2 separate regions of the Homo sapiens genome follow, and region 1 is linked to region 2. The links are contacts of gene promoters, found by promoter capture Hi-C in human tissues and cell types (Jung and others, 2019). All regions are on one chromosome and are shown on one strand. The core of a region is centred on a gene start or on the middle of the fragment in contact, and the rest is flanking DNA. Distances in the headings are between cores, read along the strand shown. Region 1 overlaps UBR1 (ubiquitin protein ligase E3 component n-recognin 1). Region 2 holds the start of ITPKA (inositol-trisphosphate 3-kinase A).

Region 1 (3,207 bases), core at 389-2,888, 1.5 Mb before region 2:
TTGACATGAAATTGCATTTGAGAAGATACTGTGAAAAAAGAATAAGTTTCTGTTCACATTTCCATTATTTATGGAAAATCTTAAATAGGATAGAGTTTGTATTAATTGCTCTGGTATTATATAATACTCAGGTGTAATGAAAGAACTTCAAGTCCTAAAACTTGTATTTAAAAAGTACTCTTCCTGGAAGATGAGCTCTTTAAAATAAATAAAAATAAACAAATAAAAGGTACATGTAGGCCAGGCACAGTGACTTATGCCTATAATCCCAGCACTTTGGGAGGCTGAGGCAAGAGGATCACTTGAGGTCAGGAGTTCAAGATCAGCCTGGGCAGCAAGGCGAGACCCCCATCTCTATAAAAAATTAGCCAGGCATGGTAGCACATGGCTGCAGTCCCAGCTACTTGAGAGGCTGAGGTGGATGGGCTGCTTGAGCCTGGGAGTTCAAGGCCATGATCGTGCCATTGCATTCTAGCCTGGGCAACAGAGTGAGATCCTCTATCAAAAAAAAAAGTACATGTAAATTTTTACTTTAGATTGTCCTGTGATATCTTTATTTCATCTATCAACCCACCATTTCTCCTGGTCTTTCAGCAAAAGATTGAGGATAGAAAAATAGTCACTTATGGCCGGGCGCGGTGGCTCTCGCCTTTAATCCCAACACTTTGGGAGGCCCGAGGCAGGTAGATCACAAGGTCAGGAGTTCAAGACCAGCCTGGCCAACGTGGTGAAACCCCATCTCTGCTAAGAAGACAAACATTAGCTGGGCGTGGTGGCGCATGCCTGTAATCCAAGCTACTCAGAAGGTTGAGGCAGGAGAATTCGCTTGAACCTGGGAGGTGGAGGTTGCAGTAGGCCGAGATTACACCACTGCACTCCAGCCTGGTTGACAGAGCAAGACTCTATCTGGGAAAAAAAAGAAAAATAGTCACTTATATTTATGAAAAAAGAGTTTAAGTTGCCTGCAGAGAAATAAAATTCAAAGTGGATATATATCCTTTTTCTTTCCACTCTCCTCATGTAACACAGTTTCTGTTACATAAAGCCAAATGTCTTTCTAACTGTGAAATATGTAATCATTGTTCATAGGCATCTTTTGAACCAAGGGGAAAGAATGTATGGAAGCCAAACCCAAACACCTATTTTTAGGGAACCCACAGCAAGTAAACCCACTACCTTATCCCAGCTGTTTATTTTATAATTTATCTGTAAAGTACTTATCCCCCATATATGTGTACGCAAGCCTTTTTTATGTCTATTTCCCAAGAGACATAAAAGTCCCAGGTGCCTTCAGGGTGGTAGTGGCTCTTTTAATCTGCAGTGTTTCAGGCCAGCTCTAACCAGAAAAGCTGGCATACTTCCCTAGTTGATATTCTGTCTGGCTTGAGGTTATCAGACTAGGAGATGTGATTCTGTTCTTCTGTGAGGTTCCCTCCCCTCTCCAGGTTGTGTCAGGAATTAGAATAGAAACAACCCCAGCCACCATTTTCCAAGGTGTCTGTGGCTGAAGTAGGACAGTTTCCTCCCTTCAACAGATTCCGTCAGTATAAATGATCTCATTTCACCAAATCCACTGCTCCTTTTCTATAGCTTCAACAGAAATAGCAATAAGTGTTCTCTTTTATTTAGACAAAACATAATTTAGTCTATTTGTCTGTTTATATTGTCTTTTTACTGAATATCTAACAGATATTGGCCACGTCTTTTCTCTAGGTTAACATTGATGCAGTGCCTATCATTTGCACACATACACTTAACCATATTTCCTATTGATTTTCTCTTTCAGAATCAGAGAATGCCGAGTGGTCCTGGTTGAAGGTAAAGCCAGAGGCTGTGCCTATCCAGCTCCTTACTTGGATGAATATGGAGAAACAGACCCTGGCCTGAAGTAAGATTTTTTTTATATAATAGGAAGGTTTCAGTAAGTTCTCTTTTATGTTGATTGTTTTCTATTTCAGTCACATTATTGTATGTAAACGGTAATAGTTCTTTAATCACAAAAGGTAATTGAGGCCAGACACCGTGGCTTATACCTGTATTCCTAGCACTTTGGGAGGCCGAAGCAGGCAGATCATTTGCGGCCAGGAGTTTGAGACCAGCCTGGCCAACATGGTGAAAACCCGTCGCTACTAAAAATACAAAAATTAGCTGGGCATGGTGGTGCATGCCTGTAATCGCAGCTACTTGGGAGGCTGAGGTAGGAGAATCACTTGAACCCAGGAGGTTGCAGTGAGCCAAGATCGCCCACTGCACTCCAGCCTGGGCAACAGAGGGAGATTCTGTCTAAAAAAAAAAAAAAGTAATTGAGAGCTACTTTTTATTTTTATTATTTATTTATTTATTTATTTTGGGAGACAGAGTCTCCCTGTTTCACCCAGGCTACAGTGCAGTGGCGCTATCTCAGCTCACTGCAACCTCTGCCTCCTGGGTTCAAGTGAATCTCCCACCTCAGCCTCCCGAGTAGCTGGGACTACAGGCATGTGCCACTATGCCCAGCTAATTTTTGTATTTTTAGTAGAGACAGGGTTTCACCATCTTGGCCAGGCTGGTCTGGAATTCCTGACCTCAAGTGATCTACCCACCTCAGCCTCCCAAAGTGCTGGGATTACAGGCATGAGCCACCATGCCCGGCTGAGAGCTATCTTTTAAATGGCTTCAAATTTAAAAAATATGATGTCATTCTTTAGCACATAATTTTTTTTTTATTTTATTTTATTATTATTATACTTTAAGTTTTAGGATACATGTGCACAATGTGCAGGTTAGTTACATATGTATACATGTGCCATGTTGGTGTGCTGCACCCATTAACTCATCATTTAGCATTAGGTATATCTCCAAATGCTATCCCTCCCCCCTCCCCCCACCCCACAACAGTCCCCAGAGTGTGATGTTCCCCTTGCTATGTCCATGTGTTCTCATTGTTCAATTCCCACCTATGAGTGAGAACATATGGTGTTTGGTTTTTTGTCCTTGCAATAGTTTACTGAGAATGATGATTTCCAATTTCATCCATGTCCCTACAAAGGACATGAACTCATCCTTTTTTATGGCTGCATAGTATTCCATGGTGTATATGTGCCACATTTTCTTAATCCAGTCTATCGTTGTTGGACATTTGGGTTGGTTCCAAGTCTTTGCTATTGTGAATAGTCCCGCAATAAACATACGTGTGCATGTGTCTTTATAGCAGCATGATTTATAGTC
Region 2 (2,992 bases), core at 134-2,633:
TGGCCTTGGTTAAAACGAGGGGAACAAGGAGGGTGTCCCGGGAGCCGCACATCCCTAAGTGGCGGGCGTCAGGAATGACTTAACAGTGCCCAGGGCTGTGTTTTCCGAGGGTCAGACCTGGTCCCAGAACACCCAGGCTATCAGAGGCAGAGACTAGCAGAGTGATCCTGCCCCCTTGCAGCCTCAGTTTACCGCCCCTCTCTGCCGCGCTCAGGAGCGGCGAGCCGGGAAGATGGGAGGCAGGGCGCGCACTGGGTGGGCTGCGTTCCGCTCCCAGCCAGAGCTCCCAGGCCCACGCCCCTCCCTCCCCTGCGTCCACGCCTCGTGCGGGCGCTGGGAGCAGACGGCAGCGGCTCCCGAGCAGAGCCTGGAGCGCCGCTCCACTCCCACTCAGGAGAGGGAAACCGTGGCAACGGCGGGGGTGCGGCCGCGGCACCGGAGAGGGGGCGGGGGGTAAGGGAAACTCTCCTTCGCCTCTCTCCTTCCGAGGGTTCACCCGGCAAGGCTCAGCCCCTCCGATCCCTCCTGTCCTAACCCACAGCCAACAAGGTCCGCTACCCCCGCTTCGCCCAGTCCCCGCGGCGGGTCGCCTGCTCCTCGCCCCGCTTCTTAGACGCCCCAGGGCCAGCGCCACGACCCGCCGGCGGAGCCGAGGTGAAAGTTGCCCAGGCGAGAGGTCGGCCAGGCGCCTCCCTCTGACCCCCAGATTCCTCCTAAACCGCGAGAACAGGACCTTCCGCTGGAGGGAGCATGGACAGGAGCGGGTCCTCCGGGAGCACCCAGCCAGGTCCCCCGTGCAGCCCCCGCGCCCGGCGCTGGCCCCGCCCCCGCGGCCCGTACCTGACCCACGTCCTCGCCCGCTTCCAGCTGCACGTTGCCGCGGCTCCGGCTCTCACTGTCGCTCAGCAGGTCGTCCTCCGAGTCCTCGAGCAGCGACGAGGAGCCAGTGGAGGAGACCGACGAGGTGGAAAGGCGGCGCGGCTGCTGCAGGTGCGAAGAGCCCGCTGCCGGGAGGCAGTCCCTCTCCCGCTCCGGCGGCCCAGGGCTGGTCGGGGGCACGTCGGGCTCCTCGGCTGTCACGGTCAGCTGAGGGATCACCGGGGCCGGGGGAGCCCGCGGAAGCCCGTTGGGGACCTGTCCCCCACGCCGCTTGGCCCCGCGGGCCCGGGGCTCCCCCGCGGCGGCGGCCGCAGCGACCGCCGCACAGCGCGCCTCGAAGAGCAGGCGCAGCTCCCCGACACTCCGGCGCGGGGCCCGCTCCAGCCCCGGGCTGCAGGGCCTCGCGCCCCCCGGCCGCGCCATGCCCGTTGGGCCCCCGGGCAGGGTCATTTCCCAGTGCCGGCGCCGCCGCTGAGCCCACCAGCCCGCGGCGCGCCGGGGACTGGAGCGGCTCGGCGCCCCCGGCTGGAGACGGCCCCGGGGCGGAGCCTGCGCCGCTGCACGCCCGCGCCCCGCCTCGGCCGCGCCCCCCGCCCACTCCTTCCACTTTCAGAGAAAGCGCGGGCCTCCCAGGGCCCCTGCGAGGGAGAGAAGGCTCTCGGTGACTCCTCGGGGTGGCGGGGAAGTCCAGCCTCCGTAGGCACAAAACCTGGGCCCGGGCCCCGAGGCTTCGCTCCGCCTGCCCTCGGGGAGGTGGGAGGGGCCGCTCCGCGCTGGGGCCTCGCAGCCTTCCCGGGCTTCGCGGCTGGGAGAGATTCCTCCAGGCCGCTCCACAGGCCCTGTCCCCGCGCAGGAGAAGCTGGTCCTACTCTTGGTCCCCTACCCCGTTCCTCGGGTTCCTTTGCGTGTTCATCCCTCCCGGGCAAGGGCTTCAAGTCTCGGGGCCTTTCTCCGGCCCGAGCTCCTGAGCAGAGTTGAAGGCCCCCGGCTTCCCGAAGAAGCCCCACCCCAGGGCGTGCACCCAAGTGGAGACTCTGCCCCAGGGACTAGCTGAGGCTGCTCCCCGCAAGTTCCCCACTTCCCGGCGGGCAGAGAACAAGGTCAGGGGGCGGGGCCTGGATCTGTCCCCATGGCCCAGCCTAGTCCCGGGCTGCATCTCCCCCGCTGCTGGGTGGCAGGAGCTGAGCCCGCCTTCCTCCTCCTCTGTTATAGGAGCTCGGGGCTTGGAGTCCGCCGTGTGGCGTTCAGCAAGTCATTTCACCTCCCTCGACTGCGGATTCTCCCGTTGCTGCGAGAATAAAATAAAAGACTTGAAATCAGGTACACCACACTCTAGATGTGATTTGTAGGCAGTCCCTTTACTCCCTCCGTATATTTCTGCATTTGTACATTTAGAAAAACCTCATCCAACCCACAGAGTTGTGTCTGTAAAACTAGGAAGACAGCACTGATGTTTAAGAGTTTCAGACACTGCAAAGTGCTTATCAGTGTCATTCCATGTGGATCTTCGGCCACTTCCCATGTTGGTAGTCAGCTGACCGACCGGCGAGGCTGCTTTGAGGAGAAGCCACTGTTTCCTATCTTACCATAGTGCCACAGGAGTGAGGGTCCCCCCTCAGGCACTCAGTGTCTGGGGATGGCTGGGGCCCTGGAGACAGAGCAGCCCCAGAAGGATTGCCTTGGATGCTGAGATGGCCGCAGGAGGGGCTTTCCTTCCCTTCTCTCCCCTCAGCCAGGGCTCAGGAATGGCCCAGGAGAAGGAAAGAAGAAGGTTCAGTGGGAAGACGGGAATCTTCGGCAAAGCATAGTGGCTCAGGCTTGTAACCCCAGCACTTTGGGAGGGCAAGGCGGGCAGATTGCTTGATCCCAGGAGTTCGAGACCAGCCTGGGCAACATGGCAAAACCCTGTCTCTACTAAAAATACAGAATATTAGGCAGGTGTGGTGGTGTGCACTTGTAGTCTCAGCTACTCGGGGAGAGGCTGAAGTGGAAGGATCACTTGAGCCTGGGAGGTCGAGGCTGCAGTGAGCTGAGATCACCACCACACTCCACCACCACACTCCACACTCTAGCCTGGGCAACAGAGTGATAACTTGTCTCAAAAAAAAAAAAA

The links. Contacts are between HindIII fragments. The study calls those that stand out against the background at their distance.
Region 1: a fragment that was not itself captured here is called in contact with the fragment with the promoter of ITPKA in region 2 in 1 of the 25 tissues and cell types used here (dorsolateral prefrontal cortex).

What each region holds. Positions count from the first base shown.
Region 1 is chr15:42,948,943-42,952,149 of GRCh38, reverse strand. UBR1 (ubiquitin protein ligase E3 component n-recognin 1) reads left to right here. Exons shown (of 47, transcript NM_174916.3): 46 at 1,787-1,888. Among named protein-coding and RNA genes, the nearest start is that of TTBK2, 30 kb to the right of the region's middle. The HindIII fragment of the contact is 4,048 bases long and covers 1-3,207 here.
Region 2 is chr15:41,492,265-41,495,256 of GRCh38, reverse strand. It overlaps ITPKA (inositol-trisphosphate 3-kinase A), which reads right to left and starts at 1,383. Exons shown (of 7, transcript NM_002220.3): 1 at 841-1,383. The coding sequence starts at 1,329. RefSeq lists silencers at 764-813, 924-1,103, 1,124-1,743 and enhancers at 1,480-1,980, 1,981-2,481. The HindIII fragment of the contact is 23,030 bases long and covers 1-2,992 here.